Regions from separate parts of the Homo sapiens genome. Here region 1 is linked to region 2. Evidence: promoter capture Hi-C in human tissues and cell types (Jung and others, 2019). All regions are on one chromosome and are shown on one strand. The core of a region is centred on a gene start or on the middle of the fragment in contact, and the rest is flanking DNA. Distances in the headings are between cores, read along the strand shown.

Region 1 (5,076 bases), core at 1,957-4,456, 180 kb after region 2:
ATATCTTTTAATCAATGCTCGATCTCACCATGGCTATCTCCACCAGTCCAATGAGACCCAGCGTTTCATTTTTTGTATATATCATATTTTTCTCCGTTGAACACCAAAAGAAAACTATGCAGCATGGCTTCTCTACACAAAGCTAAATTTAAATAATCTTAGAACTAGAACATTTACATAATTGTAGCTATGATCACGTTTATGTAATATTGGGTCTTTTTAATAATGTCAGCTATGTATAACAATTATTATCATTGTTCATAATAAATAGAGATAAAAACTTGGGTGTTATTTGCTAACAGTGAAGGCTGATGAAATATTTGTCCCAGTCTGATTTGGTGGAAGTGGATATAGCCCAGCAGTTGTGATATACAGGCCCCTGGACATTCTGGTAAACAAAAATAAACAAAGGAATTACAGTTCTTAGGAGGAAAAAATATGGTGCTTGTTTTCAAATCTCTTTGTACCAACGGCAACTTAGAATAAACAACATATACATGTCTTAGATCATATGTGGTAGGTAATGCTGTTCCCCAGATGCCAGTTTCCAGGACAAGAGTGCACTTTTATCCCAATAATTTATTCCAATAATCAGACTATTAAAACACCCTTTTAGGTGAAATTTTTCTTAATGTTTCATAAACTACAAAAATATATACGACAACAAAATATTAGTACCCTGGCCAGGATTAGAAACACAAAAATCCAATTACAGTTGTTGTTTTTTTTTTCAAGAAAAAAAAGGAAAGAAAAAATATGTGAACAGTTTACATAAACCAGGAAAAAGCTAATCATAAAGAAATAAAAAAAATGTATAAAAAGTTCTTTATCACACAAGGTATGTTAAAGGAATGGGGGATATTGCAGAATTTTATTTTGGGGTGGCTTAGGGCTGACATTGACCAGTCCACAGTCCTATTAGTTGTGGTCCTCTATGGTTTAATTAAACGCTTCCAGAAAATAAAAGTGAAGCCTTTCATCTTGACCCTTTTTCAACTTTTCTCCTCTAAGACACTTTAAAAAAAAAAAACCACAATTATTATAGAACCCATCAGTTTGTATTTGATCTCTATTTTTTTCCCAAAAATACATCTCGACTTCCCACGCATTATTTCCTAATTCCAAAAATGGGTATCATGGATTGTTAAGCATGCACTTAACACTAAACAGGTTGACTGTTCTGGGAAAGATCTCGCATACTTAATTACCATTTTATTTCATCCGGTACAAGAATGCCATCTACAGACATGACTGCGCATTTCCATGAGCTTCTCTGAAAGAACTGAAAATAAATGCTATAAGGAAGGATTCCAAAAAATGTAGCTATTATCCTGATTCTTTTGTAACATTTGTTCTTTTTTGGACTAAAATAAGTTTGAAGAACAATTCATTCCCATTATGTACCATGAAAATGTTCTGTGCAATCCATGCATTTATAATCCAAGAGAGTTCTAATCCCTGTCGAAAGACAGAACAATATGTTGAGAGCTGGCATTGCATTTTGGTGTTTTGGAGAAATCACAAAATAAAATGGACTAGGTATATGATATGGGCATTCCTACAAAGTGTTTAAAATGAAGCTAAAATTCAGAATTAACACCGATGAAATAATTTAAATTACTTCCTAAGTTGCAATAATAGACTTCCAGAACAAAAATTGTTTATACTGGAGAGATGGAAAAAGAAAAATACATGTTCTTAGTACAGACACTTGACATCTTTTTTCCTTTAACTCTCACGCCTTCTCACTTGTGAGGCAAGTTTTAACTGAGCCATACGCAGGTTAATTAATTTACCAAGTCCACACTGCTAAGAAGTGATAGGGTGAAGATTCAGACATGTGATCACTAACCTCAAGTCTAATCCACTTTCCATTGTACTAAAGCCATAAATCTCAAGGGAAATCCTTCACAGCTTTAAAAATGGGGAAGGGGATTTGATACTCTCACTGTTCTAGGGAAACTTGCAAAAAGTGTCTTCTATGTAGCTTTAAAATACACATTATTACACACCAACTGCTAAGCCCTGCTGCACCGGATGTTTTTCTTGCAAAGACATACTATAAATAAAAACTGTAATAAAATATGATCCAGGAAACAGCTGGATGCTGGGATAAAAACACATAAATGACTAAGTAGTAAATTACCTTTCACTTGATTTCAATGCTGGGTGAATTCATCCTTTCTTAAACTAGACAAAATAGGAAACAGCAATGAGTGACCCCAACTGAGTGCATCCTTTCCCTCCCTGAAAGCAAATCCATCACATTCTTCCTGTGATGCTTCCCTACGGAAGTACCATCTCCTTGAAAGAAAGAAGCAAAACCTAGAATTCTCCAATTGCCATTCTTTTATGCATTCACTCAACAATACTTTCCAGTGCCCACCTTGAGTATCACAGGTAGACAGTATACAATTTTGGAAAAAACAAACACAATACTTGCACATGAAGAGCTTACAGTAGCAGAACGGTGAGGGGTTGGGAGGCAGGGCAGTCAACATGCAAATAAATTACACACAGTAAATCATCATTAAATATTTATTAAATGAAGCCTGTCCTTGCTAACCTAGGCCTTACTGATCTCTCCCTCTCATCTTTCTGAGGATCAGAACACTTAAAATTTTGTAATATTATCTAGCTAGGTAAGCTTCCCAGGGAATGGAACAATATGTTATACTCCTTTGCTCTCCTAACATAACCAAATACAATATATCAGCAAGCACAGTGTTTCATGATGTTCCAGGGGAAGTAGAGGAAGTGGGAGGGAGGAGTGGCATGAGGGAAGGAAGAAGAAGTAGACAAACAAAGAAGGAAGTGGAGAAAGAGGTGGTTTCATTTGAATTACTTGCTTTTAGGAAAAATAAAATATGTCTAACTCATGAAAAAATGAATTTTATGTACGTGGAAACTAAACTGAAATGGTAGAAAAACACAGATCTAGACAGAAGCACTGTTTTAGTCTTAAGTGAGAAACTGAGTCTCATTTATGGTGTGGAGGCACCGGAGGAGCCGGAGCTGAGCCTGGTGGTGTCATTGACAGCAGCTGGAGGGAGGATACATCACATCATGCTCACTAAGGAATCATAATGTCCAGATTTTCATTTCTTTGAGTCAGATGATTTATGTGCCTGTGGAGCAGCACACTACCACACCATCGATATCATTATTTTGTGGATACAATGCTATAAAAATACAAATGTTAGAAGAATTCAAGGAAAGAGAGGAAAATAGAGGAGTAAACAGTATAAATTGCTTTGCCTCACTTATCCACCAAGAGCAATGCGTGCTCTGGTTGGCTGTGGTCTCTGACTTTACTTTGTCTTCCAGGCTGGAGTGCAGTGGTGCAATCATGGCTCACTACAGTCTCGACCTCCTGGGTTCAGGACTCCTGAGTAGCTGGGACTACAGGTGTGCACCACCAGGACTGGCTAATTTTTCATATTTTTGTTGTAGAGATGGAGTTTCACTGCATTGCCCAGGCTAGTTTCAAATTCCTGGCTTCAAGTGATCCTCCCGCTTTGGCCTCCCAAAATGCTGGGATTAGAGGTGTGAGCCACCACATTCAGCTTCTTTCTTTAATGAAGGTAGTAGCCTTCCTAGTCATTCTATTGCAGGCTTATTGGTCTTGTAAAATTAGCATTGAAAACAATGGTTAATTTCCACATTCAGACTCATACAGTTCTTTAAACAATTGGAATGCAAGTTATGTCTATAATGTTCTTGAAATATTCCAAATGGCCCAGAGAAACTTGACCGCAGGTGTTTGCTACCCTCATATATAACAGCATTCAGTTAAAAAATTAAGTTGTGGCTGGGTGCGGTGGCTCATGCTGGTAATCCCAGCACTTCGGGAGGCTGAGGTGGGCGGATCACCTGAGGTCAGGAGTTCAAGACCAGCCTGGCTAACATGGTGAAACCCCATCTCTATAAAAAATATGAAAATTAGCCGGGCGTGGTGGCGGGTGCCTGTAATCCCAGCTACTCAGGAGGCTGAAACAGGAGAATCACTTGAACCCGGGAGGCGGAGGTATCAGTGAGCTGAGATTGCGCCATTGCACTCCAGCCTGGGTGACAAGAGTGAAACTCCATTTCAAAAAAAAAAAAAAAAGTTGCAGTAGAATACATATAATCAAAAGCTACTGAATTCCACTAAGAACTTGCAAATGAATTTTAATATCCTGCTTGTAAAACTACTGAATATTATGGTCTTAGGTTCCTTTTCCCCTTCTATGCTGTTGGAACTAAATATACAAAACCTGCAAATGGGAGCTAGCTAGCTAGATATGGATATGTATCTACGTATACAGAGAGAAACATCAACAGACATACATATAAATACAAATATATGTGATATAGTTTCAAGAGTACATGAAGTATCCCTGAAAGCTATATTAAAACTTTCAGTTAAGATAATCCAACATCAGTCTAAATATTATCTTATCAAAACCAGTGTACACATGAACAGGGTTTAACTTTTGTGAGAGAAAGTATTTTAAATGCTTAAATAGCTAAGCCTTTAAAAATGCTATGCTTATTTTCTTATTTATTTGGTTTTCTAAACTAATTAGGTTATTTCCAATGCAAAATTTCTTGCTTTTACAAAAACAGTAGATACTGGGAGAAATTTGAATCAGTTCAATGCCTGGCACCTTTTCTAAATATCCCCCATTATATCCAATACTTGGCAAAATTCATCCCTAACCCCAGCTTCTGACCTGAAAACCATGTGTGAGGATGCTTCTGATATTGATCATCCTGGCTTCTGCTCTGTCAAAGACCAACCCGGCCTTGGCACCAACCACCTTGTGAAAGAATACAGTTCTGTTCTGCAGATCCTCTTTAGTGAGGTCTGGAGGTTCTCAAACAAGAGTTTGAGACTTGGCAGCCCAATACATGGCTGCCTCTGTACTGCACCACAGCAGCCGAAATCTTAGCAGCTAGTCAAAAGCTAGTGAAAATGTCAAAGTTACAAAGCTCCTCTCAGGGCTCCAAAGAAGCAAGAGAGCTTTCAGCAGGATCATAACAGGTGCATCAAAGTAATGCCAAGGGGAGAAAAAGACTTCTTGGACCTAGCAA
Region 2 (5,218 bases), core at 638-3,137:
AACTATTACAATACACAATAACTTCTGCAACAAGTGTTATGGTATCACTTTTGAGAGGGAAAACTTGGGGCTTGGGAAGGTTAAGTGTCTTGCTCAAGACCAAACAGATAGTTAGTAAGTGATAAAGGCAGCATTTGAGCCCAGTTCTGTCTGGCTCTGACACCAGTCCCATTTCTCCTTTTCCTTGGTTTTTCTATATTTTCACGAGACAAGGCAGTTCTACTCTTGGCATCCTGTCAATAAACATTTTCACTGTAAAATGCCTGCTGTGCTGCACAGAGTAATCTCAGCCAGGTCTCTTACCCGACCCCACCACACAGCTGCCCATCGCGTTTCTTCTCCAGACCAACCCAAACATGGTTGGGGAGTTCAGAGGGGAGGGCCCAGCATTCCCCAGTCGGGACAAGTATCTAATCAGCAGGCCTCCTCAGCATATCAGCCCAAGACCACTCTAGAGAGAGATGCCAGTGCCCAGTTTTCTATTTTTAACTGGTGTGAACTGGAGGAAAAACACAAGCATTAAAAATCAAAGCTCCAGTCAAGAACTGAGAATGCAGGGCACCCCAGGGCAAACTAGTGATCTGTGTCCTTCTTACATCTCCCTCTTCCTTCTCCCTCTCCTCATTTCATGTCATTTTTCTTTTTCCTTCTCAAAAGTTCAAGATCCTGCAAAATCTGTTTTCCACAGAGGAGATGATATCTGTCATTTATGCCAATGCTTCTCACACTTTAATGTACATACCAAGCAAATGAGGATCTTGCTGAAAAGCGGATTGGGATGGCTCTTGAGATTGCATTTCTAGCTCATTTCCAGGTTATGACAATACTGCTTGTCCATGGGCTGCACTTTGAGTAGCAAGGATTGGTGTAGTCCTATAGTTTAAGTTGTTGCTATGTTCTCCATCAAAGTATTTGCCTTTGCAGTCTTGTCTCCACCTGGAGTGAGGGCCTCTGCCCCCAGTTTAAAGATGCTCATCTCCCCACCATCAAGTGGGCAAGCTACTTTTGGCATTTGTTCCTTTATTCACTTTGGCAGCAGGGGATCCTTTTCTGGCCTGAAGACCAGAGTCTGAATTTGAGCAAAACCCTGCAGCATGGATGAGGGCTACCCAATAACTGGGCTGGGGTAAACCTGGTCCCTTCTCCAGCAAGACTTGGCCAAGCTCTCACAGAAACCCTTTTCTGACTCTTCCCTGGCCAGACCCTGATCCATGCATGGGTTGGAACTCGGGTGGCCTTGGTTAATCTCAGCTTTCTGACCTAGATGAGCCCAGCACCAGCTCTCTGAGTAAAGCCATTCAGGCTGGCGGGGACTAGACCAGAAGGGTGCCCTGTCCTGGGTGCCCCTTTTGCAGCCACTCAGATGTGCTGCTGCGGTGTCCTTTGTGCTGGTGGCAGCCCTGGAAGATGAGAAGCCGCTGTTGCTCCCCTGCTGCCCTGGCCCAGCTGTCAGGACCCCTCAGCAGAGGGCAGGGCGCCAAGCCTTCCCACTGCATGTGGCTTATTGTCCCCAAGGCTGGCAGGGCTGCGGAGGACCGAATCCACAGACCATCCAGGGAGCACCCACACCCCAGAAAGGGGGAGGGGTGGGCTGGCGTCACTTAGTCTTCCCCTGCCCCCTACCCTTCAGCGCCTGCCCCTCCCCAGCTCCCTATTTGGCCATCCCCCTGACTGCCCCCTCCCCTTCCTTACATGGTCTGGGGGCTCCCTGGCTGATCCTCTCCCCTGCCCTTGGCTCCATGAATGGCCTCGGCAGTCCTAGCGGGTGCGAAGGGGACCAAATAAGGCAAGGTGGCAGACCGGGCCCCCCACCCCTGCCCCCGGCTGCTCCAACTGACCCTGTCCATCAGCGTTCTATAAAGCGGCCCTCCTGGAGCCAGCCACCCAGAGCCCGCTGCCGCCGGAGCCGAGCCGACCCGCCCCGCCGACGGTGAGTCAGCGCCCGGCCCTCCGCGTTCACTCCTCGCCTGGTCCGCGGGCCGCGCCGGACGCCAGCCCCGCGCCGCCACCTGGCCAGCCCGGCCCGCATTCAGCCAAGGCCCCAGCTCCTGCCGCTCTGCGACTGCCTTTTTTTTTTTTTTTTTAAAGCCCACACTTTTTGATTTGGTTCTAACTTGTTTTGTCCTGGGCGTTGGTCCTCGCAGGACCTCGCAGGGGCTCTAAGAAGGGGAATTTTGTGGCTCCCCAAGGGGCTTTTGGGTCCCTACTCTCGTGCGCTTTCCCCTCCATCTGGGGCACAGGCATGGCGATATGGACAGGGCTGGAGATCGAGTTCCCAGTTCGTGAAAAGGAAGAAAGTTAAAGGGCTGGGGAGGACTAAGGGGCTGGGTTTCTTGGGTCCCTCCTTGCACCTGGCACCCTAGCTGGAACTCCTGGCCAGGGAGCCTGGGTGGATTCCTCTGCCCTTCTCTGTCCCCAGTCTCCTCCGCGGCTTCTTCCCTCCCTTTTATGATTCGAGGGGAAGGGAGGTGGCAGGAGTGTTCCCCGCCCAACCCCCTGTCCAGTCCCCACAACCCCCTTCTGCTCTGTCCTGTCCTCTGGGTGCGGAGAAGGCCAGCTGCACAGGCAGCTAAGCGTGGTCCGCCCTCCCCTCCTCAACCTGCAGAACCCCCTGAAGCTGTGCCAAGATGTGTGACGACGAGGAGACCACCGCCCTGGTGTGCGACAACGGCTCTGGGCTGGTGAAGGCCGGCTTTGCGGGCGATGACGCGCCCCGCGCTGTCTTCCCGTCCATCGTGGGCCGCCCGCGGCACCAGGTAAACTTCCCGCCGAGCCCCCCGTCCCACTCGGGACCCCTTCAGTCCAGCGATCTAGGAAATGGCTCTCACCTGACCCTCTTGTTCGATGAACTCTTTAGGCCAAATTAAGAGAAGGCTGATTGACTTCAAATCCAAGCCAAGGCAAGCAATACTCCACAAAACCCCAACATACTGAGGAATGTACACCTGAGTGGCACGCCTCTAAAAGGGTCCCACTCCCTGGTGTGAAAGCCACCTGCTTCTCTCCACTAATGGCCTTTTGGACTTTTAGTCTTTAGTGTCTTCTCTGCCTTATACACTTCATTTTCTTCCTTGTCCTCTCTTTTCAGTCCTGTTTAAAACTTCTAACAATATCACCTCTCCCAACCAACCAGGACCAAATCCACATTCCTCTCTCATGTTCACAGCCAGTTTACAGGGTTCCCCAAAGGTGTAATCAATCTATCTCCTTCCTGGCTGTTGCATTTTTAGAAGCCAGGCGTGACAGAGGCAGCAAGTGCCATGGTGATAGTGACATACCACCTCGTTTGTTAAAAGACATGCCATGCTCTCTGGGTTTGTCACATGCCTGGCCAGACAGGCTGCCAAGCAGGAGAGCTTAGTCCTCAGAGCTGGTGAATGACTCCAGAACAGCTCTGGACAGGCTGAATTTCACTGTTGGAGTGAGGATGGCATATCAGCCCATCATTATGTGTTCACTTGAATGTCAAAATCTTTTTCTTAGGAGAAATACAATGTGTCATTAATTCAGTCATTCCAAAATGCAGTCATCTATATTCCAGTTGACATGGGTGATGAGCTTAATAACTTAATGAAGGCATATGATATTTTTAAGGTGAGGTGAGGCTCTGCTTCTTCAGTGGAATAGCTTCATTCTCTCCTGAGTTATATTCTCAACAATAGAATTATACATCTTTGGGGGAGTGGGGAGAAGGTAGAAGATTGATTTTTAAATAATTCTTCTAAATTGGGGTAAAATCGTATTGCTTGTTATTTCTGGTATTTAAATATGTTCCTTGACTTGGGCAGTTAGATATAAATGGACAAGACACTGATTATATTCCTGACATGGTGAGAGCATGATTTTCTCATTTTTTCTTCTCATAGGGAGTTATGGTGGGTATGGGTCAGAAGGACTCCTACGTAGGTGATGAAGCCCAGAGCAAGAGAGGCATCCTGACCCTGAAGTATCCCATCGAGCATGGTATCATCACCAACTGGGACGACATGGAGAAGATCTGGCACCACACCTTCTACAATGAGCTCCGTGTGGCTCCCGAGGAGCACCCCACCCTGCTCACAGAGGCCCCGCTGAACCCCAAGGCCAACCGGGAGAAGATGACTCAGATCATGTTTGAGACCTTCAATGTCCCTGCCATGTACGTGGCCATCCAGGCAGTGCTATCCCTGTATGCTTCTGGCCGTACCACAGGTATGCTGGGCTCTGGGGACAGTTACTGATGAATCACATTCCCAAGTCACCGACCTTGCTGTGAATCAGATCCCCCAGTTGAAAAAGGGATAATCCCTTTCCTCCCATTCCCTAGCAAGGTCTGTGCTAAGAGAAAGAGTTAACAGTAGTGCCCTGAGGTTAGTTTCGGAGCACAATTATTGTTGGAGCTGATAGCTTGTGGAGATAGGTCCTTCCCTCATTTAAAGCTCAGCGCAGTGTAGCAGCTTGGAGTGCAGCAGTCATTGTTATGTGTTTAAACCATCACATCACCTGGGCAAGCATCCCCAAGGAGAATACATTCCATACAGGGTCTGAGTCAAAAGAGAGAGAAACGTGTAAGTTCAATAGGAGCAAAGAAAAACACCCTTGGGTGCTTACATAATGTGCTCGTGGCTGACAAGAAAGATGGTCATTTGAAAGTGTCCTCGGGAATTTTTTCTACTATAATAGTTAAAAAGATGAGCTGCAGTTTGCTTCAGATTTAGTATTCCTGATGCGCATTTTTATTCTTTGTGTGTAAGGAATCTAATTTTATCTGGATCAATGCCCATTGCTAGCATCTCTTAGCCAAGATTGGAAGCGGGCTTTGCCGTGGCTAGAGCAGTGGTGTTGTCCTCAGGAATTTACCTTGTTCTTGTCTACTTCCCCGGGCAGGCATTGTTCTGGACTCTGGGGATGGTGTAACTCACAATGTCCCCATCTATGAGGGCTACGCTTTGCCCCATGCCATCATGCGTCTGGATCTGGCTGGTCGGGACCTCACTGACTACCTCATGAAGATCCTCACTGAGCGTGGCTACTCCTTTGTCACCACTGGTGAGTGTGTGTGTCTCATCTGCCACAGTGTGGGTCTGCTTTCCTCCTCTCTCACTGAATCCGCCTACCTCCCTATAATTGACTTCTTGCTTCAGAGCATGACTGTGATACTCTTTATTTCTGTAGCTGAACGTGAAATTGTCCGTGACATTAAAGAGAAGCTGTGCTATGTCGCCCTGGATTTTGAGAA

The links. Contacts are between HindIII fragments. The study calls those that stand out against the background at their distance.
Region 1: a contact is called between a fragment that was not itself captured here and the fragment with the promoter of ACTC1 in region 2, in 2 of the 25 tissues and cell types used here (IMR-90 fibroblasts and bladder).

Annotation. Positions count from the first base shown.
Region 1 is chr15:34,618,042-34,623,117 of GRCh38, reverse strand. No RefSeq gene overlaps it. Among named protein-coding and RNA genes, the nearest start is that of LINC02252, 35 kb to the left of the region's middle. The HindIII fragment of the contact is 5,582 bases long and covers 416-5,076 here.
Region 2 is chr15:34,792,218-34,797,435 of GRCh38, reverse strand. It overlaps ACTC1 (actin alpha cardiac muscle 1), which reads left to right and starts at 1,887. Exons shown (of 7, transcript NM_005159.5): 1 at 1,887-1,930; 2 at 2,606-2,756; 3 at 3,867-4,191; 4 at 4,867-5,028; 5 at 5,155-5,218. The coding sequence starts at 2,628. The region is part of intron 2 of GJD2-DT (GJD2 divergent transcript); the gene reads right to left. RefSeq lists an enhancer at 269-740. The HindIII fragment of the contact is 17,333 bases long and covers 1-5,218 here.